2 separate regions of the Homo sapiens genome follow, and region 1 is linked to region 2. The links are contacts of gene promoters, found by promoter capture Hi-C in blood cells and fetal thymus (Javierre and others, 2016). All regions are on one chromosome and are shown on one strand. The core of a region is centred on a gene start or on the middle of the fragment in contact, and the rest is flanking DNA. Distances in the headings are between cores, read along the strand shown. Region 1 holds the start of LOC101927191 (a long non-coding RNA gene). Region 2 holds the start of TMC1 (transmembrane channel like 1).

Region 1 (5,292 bases), core at 1,699-4,198, 55 kb after region 2:
AAATGAAGGCTAATTCAGAATAAAGAACTATATAAGCAGATGGACAGTGTGTTCTCCTCTAAATAGGGGTGCTAGGATAAGAGGCGGTAGGATAAATGCACAGCCTCAAAATCCACCACCCACTAAAGACCTCACAGTACATGATGACATTAGCATGCTGTGCCAGCATTTCTACCTACCACGATGACCTGGAATGAAGGACAAAAGGGGCAATTGTTAAGTCCTGTGCGTAAACTTTGGAAGAGAACATACCTTGCTTTAAACCATTAAGGGGGCAGGCAATAGATTCCTGTACAGGGTGGCTTAGCCAAAAGTGGCTGGTCTTGTTCTCATTTATATGGTTTATAATGATTCTAAATCATTCTCGGAGAAAAACAGACTCATTTCATCTCCCTTTAATTAGGATTTCTGTTACTGCAATATTTTAGTGGCATTTATGTCAAATGTTTTCTTTTGAGAACTTCTCCCTTTTACTGTCTTTTTTCTTTTATTTTAAACTTTTATTTTAGGTTAGGGGGTACATGTGAAAATTGGTTACATAGGTAAACTCATGTCAAGAGGGTTTGTTGTACGGATGATTCATCACCCAGGGATTAAGCTCAGTACTCAATAGTTATCTTTTCTGCTCCTCTCCCTCCTCCTACTTTCCACCCTCAAGTAGACCCCAGAGTCTGTTGTTTTCTTCTTTGTGTTCATAAGTTCTCATAATTTAGCTCCCACTTATATGTGAGAACACGCAGTATATGATTTTCTGTTCCTGCGTTAGTTTGCTGATGATAATAGCCTCCAGCTCCATCCATGTTCCTGCAAAAGCCATGATCTTGTTCCTTTTAATTTACTTTTTGCTATTCTGATTAGAGAGTGGCCATGCTCCATGCTCCATATGGATATTCTTTGGAAACAAAGCATTTTTGAAATGGTAGGATTGGGGCTAGTAAAAGAGAACAGAAAGAATTGTGAACAGGGTCTCCTCCAGTACAGATGGTTAAAGAACACAAATAGGGAAGTGTGATGAGTGACCTCCATTTAATTGGGCGCCCAAGCTCTTGGCTGCTCCAGCATGGGTTGCCATCCTGACTGATCCCTTGGCTCAGAAACAGATATGGTGCTATCAGGAAAGCAAGGCCAATATCTGAATATTGCAGCAGAGACTGCTCCCATTTCAGAAAGCAACCCAGATTAAAGTTGATGATTCAGTTTCAATAAATGCTTCCTTTTTTATAAAAGGCATTTAACATCACTCTTTCCCCTGGTAATATGGAATTAGCTTTTGGGATCAACTGGAAAATGTCAGAGGGCGATTGTAAAAGGCCACCTGCTAACCACAGGAAGCTGGGCTGATACAGAATGCCAGGTTAACTTAAGGTCGATAATGGTTACTTCCTTGTCACTTTTTACATGCATCCTTGCTCTGCAGTGGGGGTCATAAGAAGTAAGATGCATGCAAGGTGAATTTCTAGAAGTCAGCTTCTCTGAGAAGTATTCTCTGACCATACATTCCTACTAGTCCCCACATACGCTGCTGATCTCCCCATCTTCACCCCCATTGTTGAAATTGCTCCCTCATTGTAACTGTTCACTCATCTGTCTCCACCATAAAGCTTAGGCTCCTAGAAAGTCAGGACCAGAGCTAGTACAGTGCCCCATGTTCTTATGGAATGATTTTAGTGCCTTGAGTTTGGTGTGGTGACCAGAGCTGGTGGCCAACTGTCGTGAGGCCCCAGTCCTTCTTTTTGTCATGCTTTCCCTCCCAGCCCCTCCTTGACCACTCTTTCACCTCCATCTTTCTACTTATATAGAGACAAATAATAAGATGCTTGTACAAAGGGTGTACTTGTATTATCCCATTTGTGTTGATATTCCACAACAGCAAATTAGGTTTTTTTGTTTGTTTGTTTTTTGATGGAGTCTTGCTCTGTTGCCCAGGCTGGAGTGCAATGCGTGATCTCGGCTCACTGCAACCTCTGCCTCCCGGGTTCAAGTGATTCTCCTGCCTCAGCCTCCCGAGTAGCTAGGACTACAGGCACCCACCACCAAGCCCGGCTAATTTTTGTATTTTTAGTACTGACGGGGTTTCACCATATTGGCCAGGCTGGTCTTGAACTCCTGACCTCAGGTGATCTGCCCGCCTCGGCCTCCCAAAGTGCTGGGATTACACGTGTGAGCCACTGTGCCTGGCCTGATAAGGTTTAAAGATTAAATACCATGTCGTTAAATTTGCAAATCTCTCGAATAGGAAAATCAGGAACAATGACAACATTCGGAGCTTCCCAGAAGGTAACAACTATGGGGAGTTTTGTGGGCATCTGAGAGAAGCACACACACAGATGGTTTGCCTTTCATTGGTCCATTCTTGCCCAGAAGGCGACACTAACTGAAACAAAGAAGCCTCATATGAGAAGGACATGGGGTCACAGCAGCTTTTGGGGTGGCCCTGGGTCCTTGATCTGGTCTTTCTCTGGCTCATTTTGTATTGCTCACTTTGTTACTTCACAATCCAGGGCTTGTGACATTTTTCTTCTCTGGAGTGGAAATGACAGAGCTGCAGAACACAAGTTTCTGATTGGTTCCTATGAGTCAGGAAAGAGGGCCAGTTGAAACTGGGCTCACACACACACACACACACAAACTAGGCTCACATGTGTTTTCCCATCAGCTAAACAAGTTTTCAGAAGTACAGAAATAACTCGTTGGGGAAGGGGACCCAGGACAATGACAATGTTTTTGATGGTAATGTCTGCAGAAGTAAGGCAGGTTTCCTCTGTGCCTGAAAAGATGGCACCATTTGAGGAGATGGCATACTCGTGGTGGAATCTTCATTAAGATGTCAAACTAAGCTGTAGGAAATCAACTCTAGAAAACAGCTCTAATGTGAGAAAACATATATCCAGTTTTATAGAGCAAGAGCTGTGATCATGGTGACATTTAACAACTGTATTAGTTGGCCAAGAGGGTAAAAATATACTTGACCTCTTAGAGCACCATAAATACTCTCAGCTTGTGGGCCAACTGTGTCATGGTCTTTTTTCTAGCCCCTCCTCTTTCTCCCTTCCTTCTTGTCTCTCTCCTCCTCTCTCTTCCCTCCCCTTTCTCCTTTCTGACCCTCTTTTCTCTTCTCTATCTTCTCGAACCTTCCCTTCCTCCTCTCCTTTAGGTGCTCAGCACCTCTTTGATTCAATAAACATTTACGGAGCTCCTTCTTGTGCCAACGACTGTACACAGAGCTGGGATGTCAAGATGAATCAGTTACATTTCCTGCCCAATGCCAAGGGATGGCTTGATGGGTTTTGACCAGCCCCTCCCTGGACTCCCAATTTCTTTTTTTTTTTTTTCTTTTTTTTTTTTAGACGGAGTCTTGCTCTGTTGCCAGGCTGGAGTGCAGTGGCACGATCTCGGCTCACTGCAGTCTCTGTCTCCCTCCCAACTTCAAGCGATTCTCCTGCTCAGCCTCTCGAGTATCTGGGATTGCAGGCATGCGCCACCACACCCAGCTAATTTTTTTGTATTTTTAGTAGAGACAGGGTTTCACCATGTTGGCCAGGGTGGTCTGGATCTCCTGACCTCGTGATCCACCCGCCTTGGCTTCCCAAAGTGCTGGGAATACAGTCATGAGCCACCGCGCCCGGTGCCCTGGACTCCCAATTTCTACCTCCTGGAACGTGCTTTACTCACCAGCCTTGGTGTTATTCTGCAATATGGCCAACTGGGATTTTTTTCAATCTTACAGAAATTATTCTCGGAAATGTTTGCTATTTTTTTTTAATGAAGCTACAGCATACAATTTAAGGATAAATAATGTACTTACTCTGCAGCTATTGTTTCAAGTCAAATCCGCTGATTACTCCTCCAAAATTCTTTTCTTAATAAAATCTCTGACCCTTTCCTCTTCCTGTTAGAACTTCTGGAGCTACCATTGTTCCTCCTCTTGGGCTGCTCATAACCTAGGGGAGTCACAGTGAAATTACTTGCTTTAAAATTCTTTAATCACTCTGCGAGTTGTTAGGAAAAGCTGACACATCTGATTTGGAAACTCCCACTCCAGTGGACTGTTGTGCCTCAGCACACAGGGACGGGTGGAGCAAAGGAACAAGAAGCCAAAAACTCTCAGGGCACTTACTATGATTGTGTAAAAGAGAGACTCATCAATTAACACAGGTACTGGCAAGTGCACTTCATAATGCCTCCATTTCTAGACAGATCAAAAACAGTGTGCCCTGTCAATAAATGCTGAGTTTCTGTAGCAGCCTGATTGAGATCAGCTAACCTTTAGGCCAAAAGCGGGATTCTTCCTTGCTGAAGCTTTTGGCAAAGCATATTGAGCTTCATGCCAGGGATTAGATTAACTCTTGCAAAACTGGTTCACCAGGAACAATGACTCAGTGTTTTTTTTTTAGTATCCGGCATATTGTGTGGAGCAGCTATAAATATATTTACAAGCTGGAGTTTCAAGGGAGGGGAGTAATAGCTTGCTGAAAAACATGCCAACTGAGTTATGGGTCTTCACGCAGCCAGCATGCTGTGTTTTGGGCTCTGCCTCTTGTAATTTTTAGAAATTAATTAGTTTATTCTTTATTTATATTTATTTATTTATTTATTTTCAGATGGGATCTTACTCTGTTGCCCAGGCTGGAGTGCAGTGGTGCGATCTCGGCTCTCTGCAACCTCCGCCTCCCAGGTTCAAGTGATTCTCCTGCCTCGGCCTCCTGAGTAGCTGGGATTTCAGGTATGCCTCACCATGCCTGGCTGATTTTTGTATTTTTAGTAGAGGCAGGGTTTCACCATGTTGGTCAGGCTGGACTTGAACTCCTGACCTCAAGTGATCCACCTAAGGGTACTGGGATTACAGGCATGAACCACTGCACCCGGCCTGTTGGTTGTAATTTTATTTTCCTCCTCAAGGACTTTGAGCACATTATCTTCTCTTTAATAACTTGTTTCCACCCTCCTTTGTGCACGCGCGCACGCGTGTGTGTGTGTGTGTGTGTGTGTGTGTGTGTGTGTGTGTATTTTCTGATCTCCCTACGGGGGCAGAGAGTCTCAAGCAGGTATGTCCATGTTATTAACATACTGTCTGCTTATTAACTAACTGCACCAATGATGAAAGCCAACTGACAAACAAGTGATGCTCTTATCCCTCCTTCGCAAGCAATGAATCTGAAAGCCAAGAGAAGTTTTCCTTTCAACAGGAAGTGTTTTGGAGTCCGAACAACTCTGCATTTAGACAGTGCAGCTTTTAGTTACAGATCTTGGCAATGGGGCAGGCAGAGGGAGCGGCAACTACAGACTTTGCCG
Region 2 (5,304 bases), core at 1,462-3,961:
AGCCCAAGATATATTAACATGTATACTACAGAAAAGATTTGAACAATAGCCCCTCAGTTGTGCAAAGTAGGCCAGCATTCCAGAGAGCCTTCCGGACATTCGCTTTTAAATTTCTGTGTCCCTAAAACTATGGTGTAAACTGAAATGACAGGACTTACAGCTCTAAGTTATAAAAATCAGAAAGGACCAGACACATTTAAACAATGCCTCAGCATGCAAGCCATTTGTGATAAAGCAAATTAATTTCTAATTTTCTTATTGTAACTTAGGGGAAGTGGTCTTTTGAAAAATTCATATTAAGCAGGGGATGAAAACAGGAAATGGATTTTGCAGTCTTCAGTCTTAATTTAAGATGCCAAATGGCACTGACAATTGCATGTGCTGCCTTTGTTTTAGTGACGGTAAAAAGAAAAAACAGGTTGGGCGCGGTGGCTCACGCCTGTAATCCCAGCACTTTGGGAGGCTGAGGTGGGTGGCTCACTTGAGGTCAGGAGTTCAAGACCAGTCTGGCTAACATGGTGAAACCCCATCTCTAATAAAAATACAAAAATTAGCTGGGCGGTAGTGGTGTGTACTTGTAATCCCAGCTACTCGTGAGACTGAGGCAGGAGAATCGCTTGAACCCAGGAGGCGGAGGTTGCGGTGAGCTGAGATCACACCACTGCACTCCAATCTGAGTGACAGAGTGAGACCCTGTCCCCCAAAAAATAAAAAATGAAATTAAAATTAAAAAATAAAAAAACAGCTGGGAGTCTGAGGCAGGCAGATCACGTGAGGTCAGGAGTTGAAGACCAGCCTGGTCAACATGGTGAAACCCCGTCTCTACAAAAATACAAAAATTAGCTGGGCATGATGGCAGGTGCCTGTAATCCCAGCTACTCAGGAGGCTGGGGCAGGAGAATCACTTGAACCTGGGAGGCAAAGACTGCAGTGACCCACGACAGTGCTACTGCATTCTGGCCTGGGTGACAGAGCGAGACTCTGCCTCAAAAAATAAAAATAAAATAAAAAATAAAAATAAAAAACAAATGAAAACCAACCAAACAACAACAACAAAAGCCAAAAATAAAAATGCCTGTGAGAGATTTCTTAGAGTCACTCATTATTAGTTCATGCTCCCAGTAGAGATATTTCTTCAATCAAGTCCCAGTTTCCTCCTCTTTTATTGCATTCTTTCGTGAAGAAAGCTTAAAGAAATGAATTCTTGTCCTTGGAAATGAGGGAGGACTATACTATGCTTTCTCTAGAAGGCACTACTGTGTGTTTGAGCATGTTTTTCAAATAATTAGTAGGTGTGAGTGGTTCTGCCAATAGACATACTACATTTATTTTCAGTGATCACTTGAAAAACACACCTATAAGCTTATAATTGCTGACATTAACAAACAACAGGTATGAAGATGCTGTTCACAAAAAGTGCATGTAGTTCCATGTGTTTTATTTAGTCTGTTTGAAATGAAGTTTAGCATATCTATAGCACACAGCATGAAACATGTCAGTCATTTTGAATTTAACATTGTGCATAATGTATTCATAAGAATTATATTTATTTATTAGCATTTATCTTCAAATCAAAGGTTAAAAGTTTCAAGATGCACAAAAATGGTTAACTTTCTGTGAGAAGTCTGAGAAATCACTGAAGACATGAAAATGACAGGCTGGAGGAAGAAGTAAAGAACCTAGAAGGCCAAAATGGAATTCTAAGATAACATGAATATAGAACATAGAAAAGAGAAAGGATTGATTGAAAAAAGGAAAGGGGAAAAAAAAGGAATTATTAAATGGAAACATTAGATTCAAGTAAACCCAAAACAATCATCAAAGTAGATGTTAACAGCATTTTGAGTACATGTTGTGAGTATGAGAAGTGCAATTCTAAATGTTAGGCCCTTATGTTTTAACATATCAGCAAATACAATATTTTGTTTCTAATTTAACAAATTTTTAAGACTTATGTTAGTTGTGACATATTTCCAATAAATAATTATGTTTCCCAAGGACACTGGGTACAATAAAGTGGGTCTGACAATTAACTTACCTTTGAAACCTGAGCCCTTCATTAGTTACAGGAATAGACTGGAACATGATTTTTCCTCTCCTGCTTGGAGAACCCACAAGTTGTGTTTTCTTTATGAATATTGGAAATTCTTTCTTTTAGCCAAATGAAGGGTGTGCATTTCTTCGGCCAGGAGTTACCAGGCTGATAATCCTGATGCAGCGGTTCTCAAAGTCTCCTCAGAAGGCCCGCAGTAGCACCAGCAGCACCAAAGGACTTGTTGGAAACACCAGTTTTCTAGGCCGGGCACAGTGGCTCATGCCTGTAATCCCAGCACTTTCGGAGGCCGAACTCCTGAGGTCAGGAGTTTTGAGACCAGCCTGGCCAACATGGCAAAACCCCGCCTCTACTAAAAATACAAAAATTAGCCGGGTGTAGTGGCGGGCACCTGAAATCACAGTTACTTGGGAGGCTGAGGCAGGAGAATCACTTGAACCTGGGAGGCAGAAGTTGCAGTGAGACAAGATCACACCATTGCACTCCAGCCTGGGCGACAAGAGCAAAACCTCTGATTAGAAAAAAAAAAACAAACAGGCGCCGTGGCTCACGCCTATAACCCCAGCACTTCAGGAGGTTGAGGTGGGCGGATCACCTGAGGTCAGGAGTTCAAGATCAGCCTGGCCAATAGAGTGAAACCCCGCCTCTACAAAAACATGATGGCGCGCGACTGTTTCCCATCTACTCAGAGGCTGAGGCGGGAGAATCGCTTGAACCCGGAAGGCGGAGGTTGCAGTGAGCTGAAATCACGCCATTGCGCTCCAGCCTGGGTGACAGAGCAAGACTCCGTCACAAAAAAAAAAAGAAAAAAGAAACACCAGTTTTCTGATTTCACCGAAGACCTACTGCCTCAGAAACTATGAGGGCAGAACCCAGCAATCTGTGCTTTCTTTCACAAGCCCTCCAGGAGTTGCTGAAATTTAGGAATCATTGCCCCAAAAAGTGGCCCTCATAATGATGCCAGGTAAGGAAAGACAACATTATTACCTATGTGTGGTGTGTTAACATTCTTTATGAAACATGTGTGAAGACCTAAATCGAAGACTTTCTCCATGAGATATTCCCTAATCACATTAGTGAAATAAAACTATATTTCCTCTACTTTTCTACTGCTACAGAAATCTCCCCCAGTTAGGATAGTCCCAGTTTCCTATTTATCTTTGTTTTTCTTGCAGTGCACAGCATGTCACCCAGTAATTGATAAGTTTTTTTTTTTTTGAGACGGAGTCTTGCTCTGTCTCCCAGGCTGGAGTGCAGTGGCGCGATCTCGGCTCCCCAAGTAGCTGGGACTACAGGCGCCCGCCATCACGCCCGGCTAATTTTTTGTATTTTTAGTAGAGACGGGGTTTCGCCGTGTTAGCCAGGATGGTCTCGATTTCCTGACCTCGTGATCCGCCCGCCTCAGCCTCCCAAAGTGCTGGGATTACAGGCGTGAGCCACCGCACCTGGCCTAATTGATATGTTTAAATGTTAAAATTAAATGCAATGATTTCCTAAAATAAACAAATGTGGGACAATTTATTGCACTCTGTTCAAATTCCCATTTTGAAGTGGAATTCAAACAAACATGACAGTAAAGGGGGACAGTGAGCACAGGGACAAGAGAAAAGGAGAAAGGGAAGAAATACAGAGAACTAGATAGGAGGAAGTGTCAAAGACTGATGGGTGTAAGCCACCTTTACCTCTGGATATTGGTTTTCCTTTGAATTGTGGTATGTGGTCATATTGCTTATTAGTTATAACATACAGCTGTCAGAAGAGTTTTTCAATTAAAATTTCAAATGTAATATTAAAACTGTTTGGATTCCTTCCTACTGGGCACTGGACACTGTCTGTGGAGCTGCTGGAACAGCGCTGAATAGGGTCATATTTTAAAGGAACTCAGCCTAGTGCAGTTTCTCAACCTTAGCACTATTGGCCTTTGGGGCCTGATAATCCTTTTTTGTGAGGGGCTGTCCTGTGCACTGTAGGATGTTTAGCAGCATCCTTGGCTTCTACTCAGTAGATGACAGTATCAACCCCCTTCCCCAGAAGTGACAATTAAAAATGTCTCCAGACTTTTCCAAATGTCCCCTGAGGAGCAAAATTGTCTCCAGTTGAAAACCACTGGGTTAGTGGGAGAAACAGATAAGACAGAAGTTCTCCATACACCATGATAATGCCATGATGCCATAGGGCTGGCAGGAGTGAAGGGAAGAGCATCTCACAAAGACTCGGGGGGATGCAGGGAGGAGGAAAAATTAGGAAATGAAGTGGGCTGAGTTGCAGTTAGCCTGTGGGGAAAATGAAGGAGAAGGGATAAGGAAGAAGAGGAGGAAGGAGGGAGGAAGAGTGAGGAGTAATAGGGAATTATAGTTGACCTTGAACAACTTGGGGTTTAGGGATGCCGACCCTTGCGTAGTCAAAAATCTGAGCTTAACTTTTGACTACCCTCACACTTTCCTAACAGCCTACTGTTGACCAGATGCTTTACCAATAACATAAACAGTTTATTAACACATATTTTGTATGTTTTATGTATTATACACTGTATTCTTACAATAAGGTAAGCTAGAGAAAAGAAAATGCTATTAAGAAAATTGTAAGGAAGAAAAAATATATTTACTGTTCATTAAGGGGAAGTAGATCATCATAAAGCTCTTCATCCTTGTCATCTTCAAGTTGAATAGGCTGAAGGAGGAGGGGGAGAGAGAAGAGACTGGCCTTGCTGTCTTAGGGGTGGCAGGGATGGTAGAGGTGCAGGAGGTGGAAGGGGAGGCAGGAAAGGCAGGCACACTCGGGGTAGCTTTCGTTGAAAGAAATCTTCATATGAGTGGACCCATGCAGTTCAAACCTGACTTGTTCAGAGTCAACTGTACTTGTTCCAGGCTAAGAACAGAGAATAAAAAAAAAATGTATAGAGGCCTGAAACAGCATATTATATTAAAAGAACTCAAAGCCGGTAAATGCTTTGCTACTGAAGCATAAAGTGAGAAAGGGGCATCATGGGCTCTGAAATTGCAGCCACAAGTCTACAGAACACATTTTTCATAGCCCAAGGTCAGTCTTCTATTACCCTTTGCAGTGAGGTTATCATCATCCATTTTCACTCGTCAGTGCTGGGGAGCCCATTAAATACTTGCCACTATACTTGGTCCCAACAGTTAATAGACTGTAGCATCTTTTATTTCTTCACCTAGCCTGAAATCAGTTGAGCTTTTGCAGAATCTTAGATATGTCGTTTTTTTCTTCAGGTTTAGAATGGGGCACTT

What was found. Contacts are between HindIII fragments. The CHiCAGO score rates a contact against its expected background, and 5 or more counts as called.
Region 1: a contact is called between a fragment that was not itself captured here and the fragment with the promoter of TMC1 in region 2, in 1 of 17 cell types (endothelial precursors). The highest score is 8.6, in endothelial precursors.

What each region holds. Positions count from the first base shown.
Region 1 is chr9:72,573,301-72,578,592 of GRCh38, forward strand. It overlaps TMC1 (transmembrane channel like 1), which reads left to right. Exons shown (of 24, transcript NM_138691.3): 2 at 4,602-4,723. It overlaps LOC101927191 (a long non-coding RNA gene), which reads right to left and starts at 4,229. Exons shown (of 5, transcript XR_242619.5): 1 at 4,118-4,229; 2 at 3,806-3,941. The HindIII fragment of the contact is 2,698 bases long and covers 1,600-4,297 here.
Region 2 is chr9:72,518,897-72,524,200 of GRCh38, forward strand. TMC1 (transmembrane channel like 1) reads left to right here and starts at 2,712. Exons shown (of 24, transcript NM_138691.3): 1 at 2,712-3,017. It overlaps LOC101927234 (a long non-coding RNA gene), which reads right to left. Exons shown (of 3, transcript XR_001746721.3): 3 at 4,522-4,921. The HindIII fragment of the contact is 6,235 bases long and covers 1,361-5,304 here.